2 separate regions of the Homo sapiens genome follow, and region 2 is linked to region 1. The links are contacts of gene promoters, found by promoter capture Hi-C in human tissues and cell types (Jung and others, 2019). All regions are on one chromosome and are shown on one strand. The core of a region is centred on a gene start or on the middle of the fragment in contact, and the rest is flanking DNA. Distances in the headings are between cores, read along the strand shown.

Evidence for each region. The method cuts DNA at HindIII sites, captures the fragments that hold promoters and counts their contacts. A contact is called where the count stands out against the background at its distance.
Region 2: the fragment with the promoter of SART1 here is called in contact with the fragment with the promoter of TIGD3 in region 1 in 1 of the 25 tissues and cell types used here (spleen).

Annotation. Positions count from the first base shown.
Region 1 is chr11:65,353,348-65,359,829 of GRCh38, reverse strand. It overlaps TIGD3 (tigger transposable element derived 3), which reads right to left and starts at 5,079. Exons shown (of 2, transcript NM_145719.3): 1 at 4,873-5,079; 2 at 2,217-4,037. The coding sequence starts at 4,021. The coding sequence ends at 2,606. DPF2 (double PHD fingers 2) reads right to left here. Exons shown (of 11, transcript NM_006268.5): 11 at 5,568-6,482. RefSeq lists silencers at 4,372-4,561, 4,622-4,791, 4,802-4,861, 4,882-5,201, 5,292-5,351. The HindIII fragment of the contact is 4,951 bases long and covers 1,842-6,482 here.
Region 2 is chr11:65,958,570-65,965,051 of GRCh38, reverse strand. It overlaps SART1 (spliceosome associated factor 1, recruiter of U4/U6.U5 tri-snRNP), which reads right to left and starts at 3,318. Exons shown (of 20, transcript NM_005146.5): 1 at 2,959-3,318; 2 at 921-978; 3 at 482-537. The coding sequence starts at 3,271. TSGA10IP (testis specific 10 interacting protein) reads right to left here. Exons shown (of 8, transcript NM_152762.3): 6 at 6,070-6,169; 7 at 5,738-5,862; 8 at 5,086-5,235. The coding sequence ends at 5,112. RefSeq lists an enhancer at 2,673-3,460. The HindIII fragment of the contact is 22,503 bases long and covers 1-6,482 here.

The DNA of each region.
Region 1 (6,482 bases), core at 3,830-6,329:
CAGTCATTGCTCCCAGTAAGGAGGTCTTGGTAAAGGCTGTTGGAAACTGCCTCAGCCCAGGTCTCCAAATGGAGGTGCCCAGCTAGGAATGCAGGTGAGCTTAGGAACAGGGCAGTCTGGGGGCCTGGAGTCCTTGACTGCAACTCTCTCCGGAAACCTGCAATGCACAGGCGATGCACCAAGCTGGGGTGAGAGAGCAGCTTCCCTCCATGAGGACTGCCAGGCAAAAGTCTTGTGACTGCCAATGGTGAAGCCTGAAAGGTCACCCTTAGGATTTTGGCCTGGAGCCCGTATTTTTATTTTATTTATTCCTTTTTCAAGAGGGAGTCTCGCTCTGTCGCCCAGGCTGGAGTGCAGTGGCGCTATCTTGGCTCAGTGCAACCTCCACCTCCCAGTTCAAGCGATTCTCCTGCCTTAGCCTCCTGAGTAGCTGGGACTACAGGCGCTCGCCACCACACCTGGCTAGTTTTTGTATTTTTGATAGAGACGGGGTTTCACTATGTTGGCCAGGCTGGTCTTGAACTCCTGACCTCAGGTGATCCACCCGCCTCGGCCTCTCAAAATGCTGGGATTACAGGCGTGAGCCACCGTGCCCAGACAGTATTTTTATTTTATTTTTTTATTTTTGAGACGGAGTCTCATTCTGTCACCCAGGCTGGAGTGCAGTGGTGCGATCTCCGCTCACTGCAACCTCCGCCTCGTGGGTTCAAGCGATTCTACTGCCTCAGTCTTCCAAGTAGCTGGGATTACAGGTGTGTGCCACCACGCCTGGTTAATTTTTGTATTTTTAGTAGAGACAGAGTTTCATCATGTTGGCCAGGCTGCTCTTGAACTCCTGACCTAAAGTGATCCACCAGCCTCGGCCTCCCAAAGTGCTGGGATTACAGGCATGAGCCACTGTGCCCGGCCTGCAGCTTGTATTTTTACCAGCTAGAGTCTATCTGCGTCCAAAGCCCATATCCTTTCCAGGTAAAACCATTTTCTTTTCTTTTCTTTTTTTTTTTTTTTTGAGTGAGTTTCACTCTTGTTGCCCAAGCTGGAGTGCAGTGGCACCATCCTGGCTCACTGCAACCTCCACCTCCCGGGTTCAAGCGATTCTCCTGCCTCAGCCTCCTGAGAAGCTGGAATTACAGGCATGTGCCACCACGCCCGGCTAGTTTTTATATTTTTAGTAGAAATGGGGTTTCACCATGTTGGCCAGGCAGGTCTTATAAACTCTTGACCTCAGGTCATCCACCCACCTCGGCCTCCCAAAGTGCTGGGATTACAGGCGTGAGCCACCGCGCCCTGCTGGTAAACCATTTTCTTTACATCCTACTCCCAGGATCTGGCTCACGCTTCACCTTCTCTCACCTGGATCAGTCAGAGGCTCTCTGCCTCTAGGTTTCACATCTTTGACACACCCTACACAGACTCCGTTATTCTAGAACCCCAAGAATGACTTGTTCCTGCCTACCTAAAACCCTCTGATGGTGTCCTACCCCTAAGCCTGGTTGGCTAAAGGCCCTTCCTACTCTCCAGGTCTCTCCTTGTACTCTGCCCCTACCTCCGCAAGTATGCTATGCTCTGGCAGAACTGCCTGCCCCCGCCCCCAGCACACTGTGCTCCTTCACTCCAATCAGACTCTGCACACGCTGTCCCTTGGCCTGGGACGCCCTTCAAACTGCAGCTCAAAGCTCACCTCCCCCTGGAGTCTCCCTAGCTCTATGGGGCCAGGCACTTTGCACAGCCGTTATCACAGCCTTAATCACACTCCACTGTCATTGGCTGCAAGGTTCTGTCCAGAAGAGACATCATCTTTGCAACCTTGTTCACATAGGAGGTCTTGCTGAAGTGATGTTGTGAAATAAGCAAATGAAAAAAAAAAAAGAAAGAATGAATGACTATTCCATTCCAATTCCGGCTCCTTTCTGTTTCCCTGACATGTCCGTAGCCTGCCCAACCCCAAACACACACAATCTGAGAGCGAAACTATTGGAGCTGCAGCTTATCTGGGGCAGTAGCTGGGATCTGTCTGTCCTGGAGCTTCCCTCTCAGGAGGGTAGCCCACAAGCAGTGCCCACACCCTGAGAGTCCTTGCTGCTGAATATCTGGAAAAGGAGGATCCCTACTGGTCATGGACAGACAGCTGCACCGCAGTGACCATCAGCAATTAATTTTCCAAATCTGAATGGAAAATGTTTACCCTTCTCCCATGAAAATAACACCCTGGCCTCTTTTCTGATTAAAAACTTTATTTTCAGAAGCAGAACTGTTTTTAACACAAAGTTCAAGGAAGCAGTCTGTCCAAAAAGCCCAAATTCCACCTTTCTAAGTGGCTGCCTCTAGACTAACTCCCTTTCAAAGGCTCTAGAACTTTCAAGCAGGGTCTAGAAACTAAGCATCCTGGATTCCTACCCCCGAAGCCCCATCTTTAGAGCTCTCTTCCTGGGGTTTGGACGACTGCCACTCCAAGCTCAGACTTGGTGTCCCAACTTCTCTCCCTTCTACACCTTTACGACAGTTCTATTTCCACAGGAAAGAGACAGCCCGATCTGCCTTCTGAAGAGGCCGTTTCCATGGGAAACAAGAGAGGAAGGGGCTCTGGCAAGCAGTGAAGGCGCCTTCATAGGCAGCAAAGCCGCTCCACCTCCTCCTCACAGTCGTAGAATTTTTCGAATAGCTCAGGAGAAGTGCTGTTGCATTCAAACCACCTCCTCAAGGTGCCCAGGGCCCGGAGGGCATCAGCTTTGGTGGGCAGGGGCTCAAAGGCACCCTCTCTGTCCCCCTTCTCGTCTTCAGTGCCTATCTCCTCCTTACATACTCCAGACCTTGGCTCCTCACCCTCCAGGTCCACAAAGCGGGAAAACTCCTCCAGGCTCAGCCCGCCGGGGACTGGTGGCATCTCAGAGGTTTTGTGCGAGGACGGGGGCGTTTTGCCGGGAGCCAGCCCTTCTTGAATGAAGCTGCTGAAAATGAGCTGAGGAGGCACCTTGGCCCAGGCGGCAGACGCCACGTGCAGGGCGTCCAGCACGGTGATGCCTGCCCCGGCCTCGGCCAGCGAGGTGCCATCCCTCTCGCTTTGGATGGCAGCCAGTTTGCCCAACAGCCGGTGTCGGTAATGGGCCTTAAAGGCCCGGACCACTGAGCTGGGCAGGGGAGGCGTGGTGCTAGAGGCGGCCAGAGGCAAGAGCTTCACGTGGTAGAGCCCAGGCAGGCCTGCCAGCTCCTCCACCACTCGGGCAGCCAGCAGCAAAGCCACCTGTCGGCCCTGCTGTCCCATGTCCCGGTCAAACTGTGCCAACCACTCTAACCAGGGGATGCCCAGGTCCGGGTGGTAGGAGGCAGGCAGAGCCTCACTGCGGATCCCAAAGAAGCATCTCGGGGCAGCCTGGAGCCCACCCAGCAGTACCCGCCGCTTCTCGGTGCCCCTGCTGTTGGCACACAGCAGCACCTGTACTTGATCACATGCACCAAAGCTGCCGGGCACTGCCCGATACAGCAAGGGCAATTCAGCACAGCCAAACACGTCCTCTGGAGAGAAGTCTTTTAGGGAAAGAGGCAGCTGAGCCTGGGATGTGAGCCCCGGGGGAGGTGGCTCAGGGGGGAATGAAGGCGCAAGAACATGGCGGGCCCCAAAGCCGACGTTGTTTCGGCGTTTCCAGCGGACCAGCCAGCCGATGCTGGGCACGAAGTCCTGGCCCATGATATCGGCCAGCTCCTTGGCTTTGTGGAGCAGCATGGGCCCCGTCACGTCCCAGGCCTTGGCCCGGGCAATGTGGTACCAGCAGAGCAGAGCCTCGTCGATCCCGCTGTACTTGGACTCCCGCTTGCGCTTGCGCTCTCGGTTGGCTGTGCCGCTGCACCAGTCCGCCAGCAGCTTCTCCTTATTCTTGCAGATGCGCGAGATCTGGGGCTGGGAAACCTGGAAGCGCCGGGCCACCTCCGACTGGGACATCTTGGACTCATCCAGGAGTTCCAGCACCTGGATCTTCTCGGCCAGGGACAGGGCGTGAAGCTTCTTCTTGCTGCTCAGCTCCATGGCCTCTCCGGGGCACCTGTGCGGGGAGGAAAGATTGAGCGGGTAGAGTAATCTGAGGCCGGAAGAGCTAGGAAAGGAGCGCAGGAGGGAAAAGAGATTAGATGAGGACTTGCGCAGGCACCGGGTGAGACTGGACCCGCTGAAAGAGGAAGTGGCTAGGCCGAGTGGAAGCCGGCTGGCCCCGTCCCCAGGATGCCAGGGCAGAGCTGGGGAGGGGGCGTCTCTCCACTCAGAAGGACAGGGGAGTCTGGGCTGGGGTCTGGCCTCACTCGGGAAGAAGGATGAAAAGTGCAGGGGACAGCTGCAGAGATAACAAAGGCATACGGACGGGGGAGGGCCTGGGACTGGGGCCGAGGGGGCAGGTGTGGGGCTACGGGGCTGCGGGGGAGGAGCCCCCGGGAGGGAGTGGGAGGCGGCTTGGGCTGGATTCAGATGACGCCGCTGGGGGGTGGGAGGTGGGTGGATGCACACAGAGTTGAGGTGACAGGTGTACAGACGACAAAGGGGACAGAGGGTGTCTGAAGGAGCGAGGCTAATTTGGTGCCGGGTCCTGAGAGGGAGGCTAGGCGACGGTCAGTCCTGAGGGGAGCGAGAGGGCAGGGCCGAGGGCGCAGGTGCACGAGCGACAAAGGGCGGGAGGCCTGAGGAGGCTGCGGGCAGCGGAGGGGCGGGGTGTCCCCGCGGGGAGGGTGGTGGCCTGGGAGGGTCCCAGGGCGCGGGAACGAACGCCCGGACCCAGGCAGGCCGGCAGCCGGACTCCGTGCCCTGGCCGGTCACTCCCCCTCGACCCGGAGTATGTCGGCGGGGCGGCCCCAGGCGCCCGCCCGCCCGGCCTCCCGCTCCGCACCCACCTCAGGCGCTGGTCCCGCGGCTCCAGCCCCTGCCCCCAGCCCGGCTCCCGAGCCCCTGTCCGGGCGGCGACAGCAGAACAGGGGAGGGATGGGCGCCACGACCCCGAGGGCAGAGCGGACCGAGGGCCTGCGCGGACGGCGGGCGGGCGGGCGCGCGCACAGCAGAGTCCCGTGCGCGCCGCCCGCGCCGGGCTCTCTCCCGGCTGCGAAGTCCGCGGTGCGGCCCCTCTGCACCCACCCGCCGCAGCCCCGCCCCGGCCCAAGCAGATTGGTCCTCAGTGGCGCCCCGTCCCTCCCCCGGCTAAGTTTCATTGGACGTTGCGGAAGTGGCGGTTCGTCGAGCCCCTCTGGGGGCGGGGCTTCTAGCGCGGAGGGGCGGGAGGCGGAGCCAGGAACCAGCAGGACTCCCCTGGGCGCCTCCAGCAGCCGCCGACCCCGAGGGCCCGACGAGCCCTGTAGGTGGTGTGGTGACCGCCGAGCTGACTTGGCGTCCCAAAGCCTCCCTGGCCGTGACCCTAGACCGCATCGGCTTCTTCGTCTACCAAGCAGGGCTAACAGCCCTCACGGAATTGTTTTGGGAAAACGATGAAAGGAGAAAATGGATGCAAGCTTTAAGCCACACAAAAGCTGGTTACCATGGACAGCGCTGGCTCGAGTCTGTCGGCCACGGAAACACTGCATGCTTGGGCCAGTAATGATTTAGGACGAGTATTTTATTAGATTTGGTACTTTACAAGATTCAAGTTCTTAAACTCAAGATCTGGCATCGTTCCCTTCCCTGCTAACCTTCAGTCCCGAATTAAACGCAGACGTCTTGACCCGCAGCCCAGCTGCTCTCCAGCCTCGCTGCTCCCTCCGCTCACAGCTCCGCATCCTCTGCCTTCCTCACAGGCTTCCGTCCGCACCCCCGTCCTACCGGCTGACACTGTCCAACTCTCCAAGACCCATCTCAAATCCTACCTCCCGCAAACCCTTCCTAAATTTCCTCACCTAGGCCTGCTACAGCGTTCTTATTTTCCACATTTCTTTTCTGGCTCTCGGACTACTCAGCTGCCAAAGCGCATCCATTGCTGTACTCCCTCTCTGCCTGGCCTACTTCAGTGGAAAAGCATGAGGACGGGCTGCGCTCTGCTCCTCACACAATCCCCAGCCCAGAGCACCCTGCTTATTTATTGAACATAACAGTGCAGGCCGGCCTAGGCTTCCCATAGGCAAGGATGACTTTCAGAATGTTCTAGAAAAAAGGATACTTCAGGGGGCCCATAACTGCTTGATTCAAATCTTTCCTTTAAAAACATAAAAACAACAGTTGGACTTCTAAAACACACACTGAAGACATACGCGCTGCCACGTAAGCTCTCCACATGTTCACTTTGCCTTCAGGGAAACTGTGTGCACATCAACGTGCCCTGGGAAAGGCTGCAGGGCTGCACTGCGGGCAGTTCAGATCCTAGAGCACTTGCTCTGGCCTGGGAGCGCTGCAGGCAACTGAAGCCACACAGACCCTGCTCCTGCAAGAACTTTTGTGTGTGTCCCATGGTGATGTCATTAGTTTGCTTATTAATTATATTTATATAAACTTCTGGTCCTGTTTTAAATGTCTGAGATTG
Region 2 (6,482 bases), core at 2,069-4,568, 610 kb before region 1:
GCTGGTGGGGAGAGGAGGGAGCCACTCACCCTGCCCCCTTCCAGCTCAGGGGGCCAGAAGGGGTCAGGACAGGAAGGAACAATCCTTCACCTCCCTGCTCCCACTTCGTCCCCACACTCCTGGCCAACCCATGCAGCACAACAGGACCCTCTGTGGCTTCCAAAGCCCCTCAAATCGTGCTTTAAAGAAAAACAAGAAACCCACCCCCGCACAGCGCAGTCTGCAGCAAGTGTGCACATCTTCCAGTCCATCTAACAACTCACAGCCAGAGTGAGTATGCGACGGCCACAGCTCCAACTCAGAGAGCAGGCGGAGCCCCAGATCCCCATTATACCAGCAAGGAGGGACCTCATGCCTTCCGGCAAATATGCATGTGTAAGACCACTAAACAGTGCTGAACCTGCCCTCTAACCCCACCTTCTTCAAAGACCCCTTCAGATGGCCTCTTTCCCCCAAACCCTATCCTCAGCCCCATACTCACCCTTCTTGATGGCATTAACCTCCAAGGGTTTCAGCCCCAACTTTGCCCGGAGTTTGCTGACAACAAGAGATACAAGTGTTAGGGGCTATTAAAGACACAGGGTGCCATGTGCATTTCCAGACAGACAAGAGGAGAAACAGGGTGGGAGTGAGTGGTCCCAAACACAAAGTCTGCCCCAGGCAGCCTAGGACACTGGGAAGGGCCCTGGCCTCCAAAGCAGGAAACATGGGCACCAGCCTGGTCTGCGTCTAACCAGTGAATGCCACTTTACTCTTAGGTTTTAGTTTTCTCTTCTATAAGTCAACTGTTGGCTAAGATGATTTAAACAATCTTTCCAACTCTGATTAGCACACTTTCATGTGAGAAAGCCTCCCCCGTGCTGGCCCCAGAGCCACCTCTCTTAGAAAAACAAAGTAGAAACAAGGGAGACAGTACTCACTTAGTCTCCTCGATGCTGAGTGAGGAGGCATCGCCTGAGCTAGTTTTGGAGCTGGCAGCTGGAACAAGAAGAAGCATGGCTCAGGAGCTGAACACAGGGCCAAGAAGCCAGCATCGTTGGCTCCAGCTGCAGGAACAAAAATGAGGGCCCCTCACCAGCACCTGGGCCTGCTGAAACACCAGAAAACAGCAGCTTCTTCCACCCAAGCTCCCCAGCAGCTCCTCTGCCCGAGTCCAGTCTCAGAGCCCTGCCTCTTCTGTGCACCTTCCTTTCCTGACCCAAGACATCCAAACTGCTGTAGTCACCACTCTGCCCTCTACTTTTTTCTTTCATTTTTAACAGACAAGGTCTGGGCCGGGTATGGTGGGTCATGCCTGTAATCCCAGCACTTTGGGAGGCCGAGGCAGATGGATCACGAGGTCAGAAGTTCAAGACCAGCCTGGCCAAGATGGTGAAACCCCGTCTCTACTAAAAATATAAAAATTAGCCAGGCACGGTGGTGCGCACCTGTAATCCCAGATACTCGGGAGGCTGAGGTAGGAGAATTGCTTGAACCCAGGAGGCAGAGCTTGCAGTGAGCTGAGATCGTGCCACTGCACTCTAGCCTGGGCAATGGAGCAAGACTTTGTCTCAAAAAAACAAAACAAAACAAAAAAAAAACTCTTCCTTTCCTGCATTCCCATCCTGCATCCTACCTTCTCCTTTATCTTAAAGGCTTCTCTCTCCACCTGGGCCATGGATCCCAACCTCTCCAGGCTCCCCAAGGTCACCAGCCTCCTCGTTTCTAAATCTAGTGGGTTCTTTTCGGTTCTGGTTTTGCTTGATCTCCTGTGGTATGTGGGACTGCTGATCGCTCCCTCCTTCTAACAATACTCTCTTCCCAAAGTTCCCATGACACAAAGGTTTTCCTGCCTTTTTGGTTACTCTGTCTCCTTTTTTTGGTAACATCTTTCTCTGCCTACTACTAACATAAGGGCATTTCTCAGGTTCTAGTCCTGACCCCCTCTTCTCATGTCACAGTCTTTCAGGGGCTTCACTGGCCACCCAGATACTGACTCCCAATGGCTTTATCCAGTCCAAACTCTGGATTTCCCCATTACCATCAACCTTGACAACCCCAAAAGTGAACTATCTCCCCCCACCCCCGCTCCAAATCTGCTTCTCTTCCCTACTCCTCAATTTCAGTAGAAATGACACCCACTACCTATCTGGCTGCTCAAGCCAAAATTCAAGGAGTCATCCTCCATTCCTTCTTCCCACCCTCATACAAGTGCTGAGTTCTGTTCATTCCTCCTCCAAAACACCTCTCCAACCTGTCCACTTCTCTCAATCCCACTGCTGCTGCCTTGGTGCAGGCCACCATCAGCCCTCCCCTGGCCTATAGCCCTCCTGGTTTCCTGGTCTCCAGTCCTGACTACCTTTGACTAAATTCTCAATCCAGTGATGTTTACAAAATACGGATCTGAGCAACTCACTCCTCAACTCACATCCATGGCTCCCTACTATCCTCAAGACAATCTACAGTTCTTAACAGAGACTACAGTACAGGGTCCTTTGTGTTCACATCCCTGTCTATCTTACTCCCTCATTTCTCTACCATGCGCCCTACACGATTCGTCCAATACCAGGTTTTTCTTGCCTCTGTATATGCTGACACTACTTCATTCACTCATTCAACATATTTATTGAGAATCTGATTGTACCAGACAACTGAGGAAAACAGAAGCCCTCTGTCCTCAAGCAGCTGAGTGGAGAAAGTCAACCTCTAATCCTAAACAACCGTAGAAAGACTTTTTTCTTTTTGAGACAGAGTCTCGCTTTGTTGCCCAGGCTGGAGTACACTGGCGGGACCGCAGCTCACTGCAGCCTCTAACTCCTGGGCTCAAGGGATCCCGTAGAAAGACTATTTAATAGAGCTGGTAAACAGCTTGGGGGTTTCCTGGCCTGAAGAGCTTCGCTGACACTGCGCGCACACCCAGACCCACGCGTTCCGGGACCCCCGCCCGACCCGCCCCCTGCGCAGGCCCCGCCTCCTCACCGGCCTCGTAGCCGTCATCGCGCTTCTCCCGCTTCACGCGCCGCTCGGAGGGCTCTGCCTGGCTGCGCTCCCGCCCGTGCGTGCTGCTCCGGGCCTCAGCTTCGGCCCCGCGCCGCCCGCTCCCGCGCTCGCCCCCACGTTCCCGGCTCCGCTTCCGTCGTTCGCCACCGCTACCGCCACTGCCGCCACTCCGGTGCTTGTGTTTTTTGTGTTCCCGGTGCCGCGGCGGCTGCTCGGTGGCACCCCCGGTGCCGGCCGCCGCCGTCGTCCCGGCCGCCTCCTTCTCTCCGCGATGCTTCTTGGACGACCCCATAGTGGCACGTCCACTCCGAGCCCGGCTGCCGCCGAGCCCAGACAACGCAAAATGGGAATACTTCCGGGTCGCTCGGCAGCCGCTGTCGTGTTGCCGGAAACTAAGAGCGGCTGCTTCCGTCGCTCGCCTTGGAGCCTGCCCCAGAGGCTCATGGGAAGGCCGGGATCAGCGCTCGACTGCACATTCGCGCCGTCTCGGGTCGGGTGGGTTCTTTGAGCGAGTGGTCCCATTGCGCATGCGCTCCTCAAGGGAAGCGGAATTAACCCGGAGGTGGGATCCCAGAACTGGAAGGACTTAGAGCCCATTAAGTCAGTGTCTTCGTGGCTTTAAGTTCCTCCCCGGCCTCCCTGCGCTTGCACTTCACCGGCAACGGGGTGTTCACTACCTCACGGTCTTTCCGTAGACACCTCCCTCCTACAATGGGCGCTCGCTTAGTGGACTCCTAGGGTCGTGGCTCCAACGGGTGTTGTTTTCCCGAGATCTCCAATTCCACAGCCCAGCTTCAGACCCGCTATAACCAGTATCGTCAGGGAACGCTTCCTTCCCACGTTCCCTGTTTTGTTTTGTTTTGTTTTTTCCCTTGAGATAGGATCTCACTCTGTTGCTCAGGCTGGAGTGCAGTGGCGTGATCACAGCGCACTGCAGCCTCGACCTCCTGGGCTCAAGTGATCCTCCCACCTCAGCCTTCCCAGTAGCTGGGACTACGAGAGTACGCTACCACGCCCCTTTAATTTTTGTATTTTTTTGTAGATGGTTGGTGGGGAGCGGGGGTAGGGGGTGGGGTCACTATGTTGGCCAGGCTGGTCTCGAACTCCTGAGCTCAGGCTATACACCCGCCTTGGCCTCCCAAAGTGCTGAGATTACAGGCATGCGCCACTGCGCCTGGCCCTGGATTGGATTTTTAAAACCTGGCCCCGTGAACTGTTAAGATTGTTTAGGAGCTCCACATGGGCGTCAGTGTATCCCTGGAACCCCTGAAATTGAATGCAAAATGTGGCACATCTGTGTGTATGAGTTTTTTTCTTGAGGAGACCAGCCCTAACTTAAAACTATTGGGACTTAAAACCCCAGTGCAGGCCGGGCGCGGTGGCTCACGCCTGTAATCCCAGCACTTTGGGAGGCCAAGGCAGGCGAATCACGAGGTCAAGAGATCGAGACCATCCTGGCCTACATGGTAAAACCCCGTCTCTACTAAAAATACAAAAATTAGCTGGGTGTGGTGGCGCACACCTGTAGTCCCAGCTACTCAGGAGGCTGAGGCAGGAGAATCGCTTGAACCTGGGAGGCAGAGGTTGCAGTGAGTTGAGATCACACCATTGCACTCCGGCCTGGTGACAGAGCGAGACTCTGTCTTAAAAAAAAAAAAAAAAAGCGCAGTGCACACAATCCCAATCTCTCCTGAAACCCCTCCCCTCACCCAGTGGTTGCTCAGTCTGTGGCTCCCTGTGTGGCACAACTCAGCATGTGTTAGGCTATGTTGTATGCGCCCCTTTAAGGATCCACCCCCTCTCCCACTCACTGGGCGTCCTCAGAGGCAGGAGTCATTTCATCTTATTCATGCTTGAATTTATAGGACCCAACATATACATTGGAGATGGGGTGGAGAAGTCACAGCTCTTGCTCTTTGAGATGTCCCCACTCCTCAGGAGCAGAGAAGGGGCTGTGTGTACTGGGTGGGGGGAACCAAAAGAGCCAAAGCTCCTGGTGGGGAGGGGGTGCGGGGACAGAGCTAAGCCTGCTGCCCACCCACCTGCCACCTCCAACTTCCAACCCGTAGCTTCCACCACCCCCACCACCAGAAATCTCATACTGTGTTTGCCATAAAGCCTTTAATTTTATCTCAGGGACTGCACTCCGGGTCCAGGCTGGGGTTGTAGTGCCTGTCAGGCTGGCTGCCGGTGGGTTCTGTCCTTGGGGGCCTCTGAGGAGAGTGCTCCATTCTCACCCCCATTGACCTGTGGCTCCTTCAAGACACAGATAGAGGCCCCTGACTCTGCAGCTCCCACCCCCATGCCCAAGGAAACCACTGACAATGTGGCTTCAAACCCTGCTTCAGTGCCGGCTTGCTGTGTGATCCTGGGCAAAGTGACTCTTCTCGAGTCTCACTTTCCTTATTGTCAAGTGGGCTTCATAATCGCTGCTCTGTACCAGGTTATTCTAAGGCATGGGGTGACCAGCGTGGTGGTGCCAGCCCCTAATGAGGGACTTGGTGTGTGGCCGCTCAGATGGTTGCAGAGTCCCAGACTGGTTCTGCTGCTTGTTCGCTCCTGCGTCCTTAAAGAAGGCCCTTCCCCTCAGGTCCTTAGTTTCCTCATTGAGAAGTAGGAATGACAACCCTGGCCTTGCCTTCCTCTGGGCTCTCTGCCTGTCCTGGGGGAGGCCCTCCAGAGCCCAGAGTGCTGGTGTGGGCGCCCCTTCCCGCAGCAGCATGGCAGAGTCAGTTCTTGACCTGACGGGGAGACTCACCTGGGTTTCCTGGGGGTGCCCTCTCTGTCCACCTTTCCTGCCTCAGACAGCAGCTGCTCCTCATCCAGCCCCAGTGCTGACAGCACCTGGGAGAAGCGCCGAGTGACGGTGAGCCGGGCATTGGCCTGAGGAGAGAGAAGACGGCTTCCTGCTCTGCACCAGGGCTGCCGAGGGCAAGGTGGGGATCGGGTTACTGAGGGGGTCCCAGGGATTCCAGAGGGCAGCAGCCCTGGGATCCTATCTGCAGGGACCTACTCGCATCCTGCTTCCCTACCCACTCAGCCAGCTCTTCACAGGGGGCAGCTATGTGCTTGCCCAGGTGCCAGCCTCACCTGCATAGCCTGCTGGAACAGGAAGGGCCGGGCCTGCACCCTGTGCTGGATGCCTTGCAGCTCCGCCTGGTACTCAGCAAAGCGCTGTCGCTCCTGGCGCCTGCAGGGGAGACAGGCCTTTGTGCAGCTAACCATGGACACAACTGTTGATCTCCATTCCTGAGCCCGCTTATCTTCACTAAGGACTTGATATTCATGTCCTCACCCTCACCTTTACAAAGCTATTTCATTCCCATTCTTGCCTGGATTCCTTGTGAAGTCAGCCAAGGTGGAAATTATTCACCCAATTTACGGATGGATCGGGAGGGTTGAGGGACTTGTTCAAAGTTGTGCAGCTGGGAAGTGAGGGGCCGAGCCCTGTGCAGCTGGGGCTTGCCCATCCTCCTGTGCCAGCCCCATGGGAAAGGGGCCAG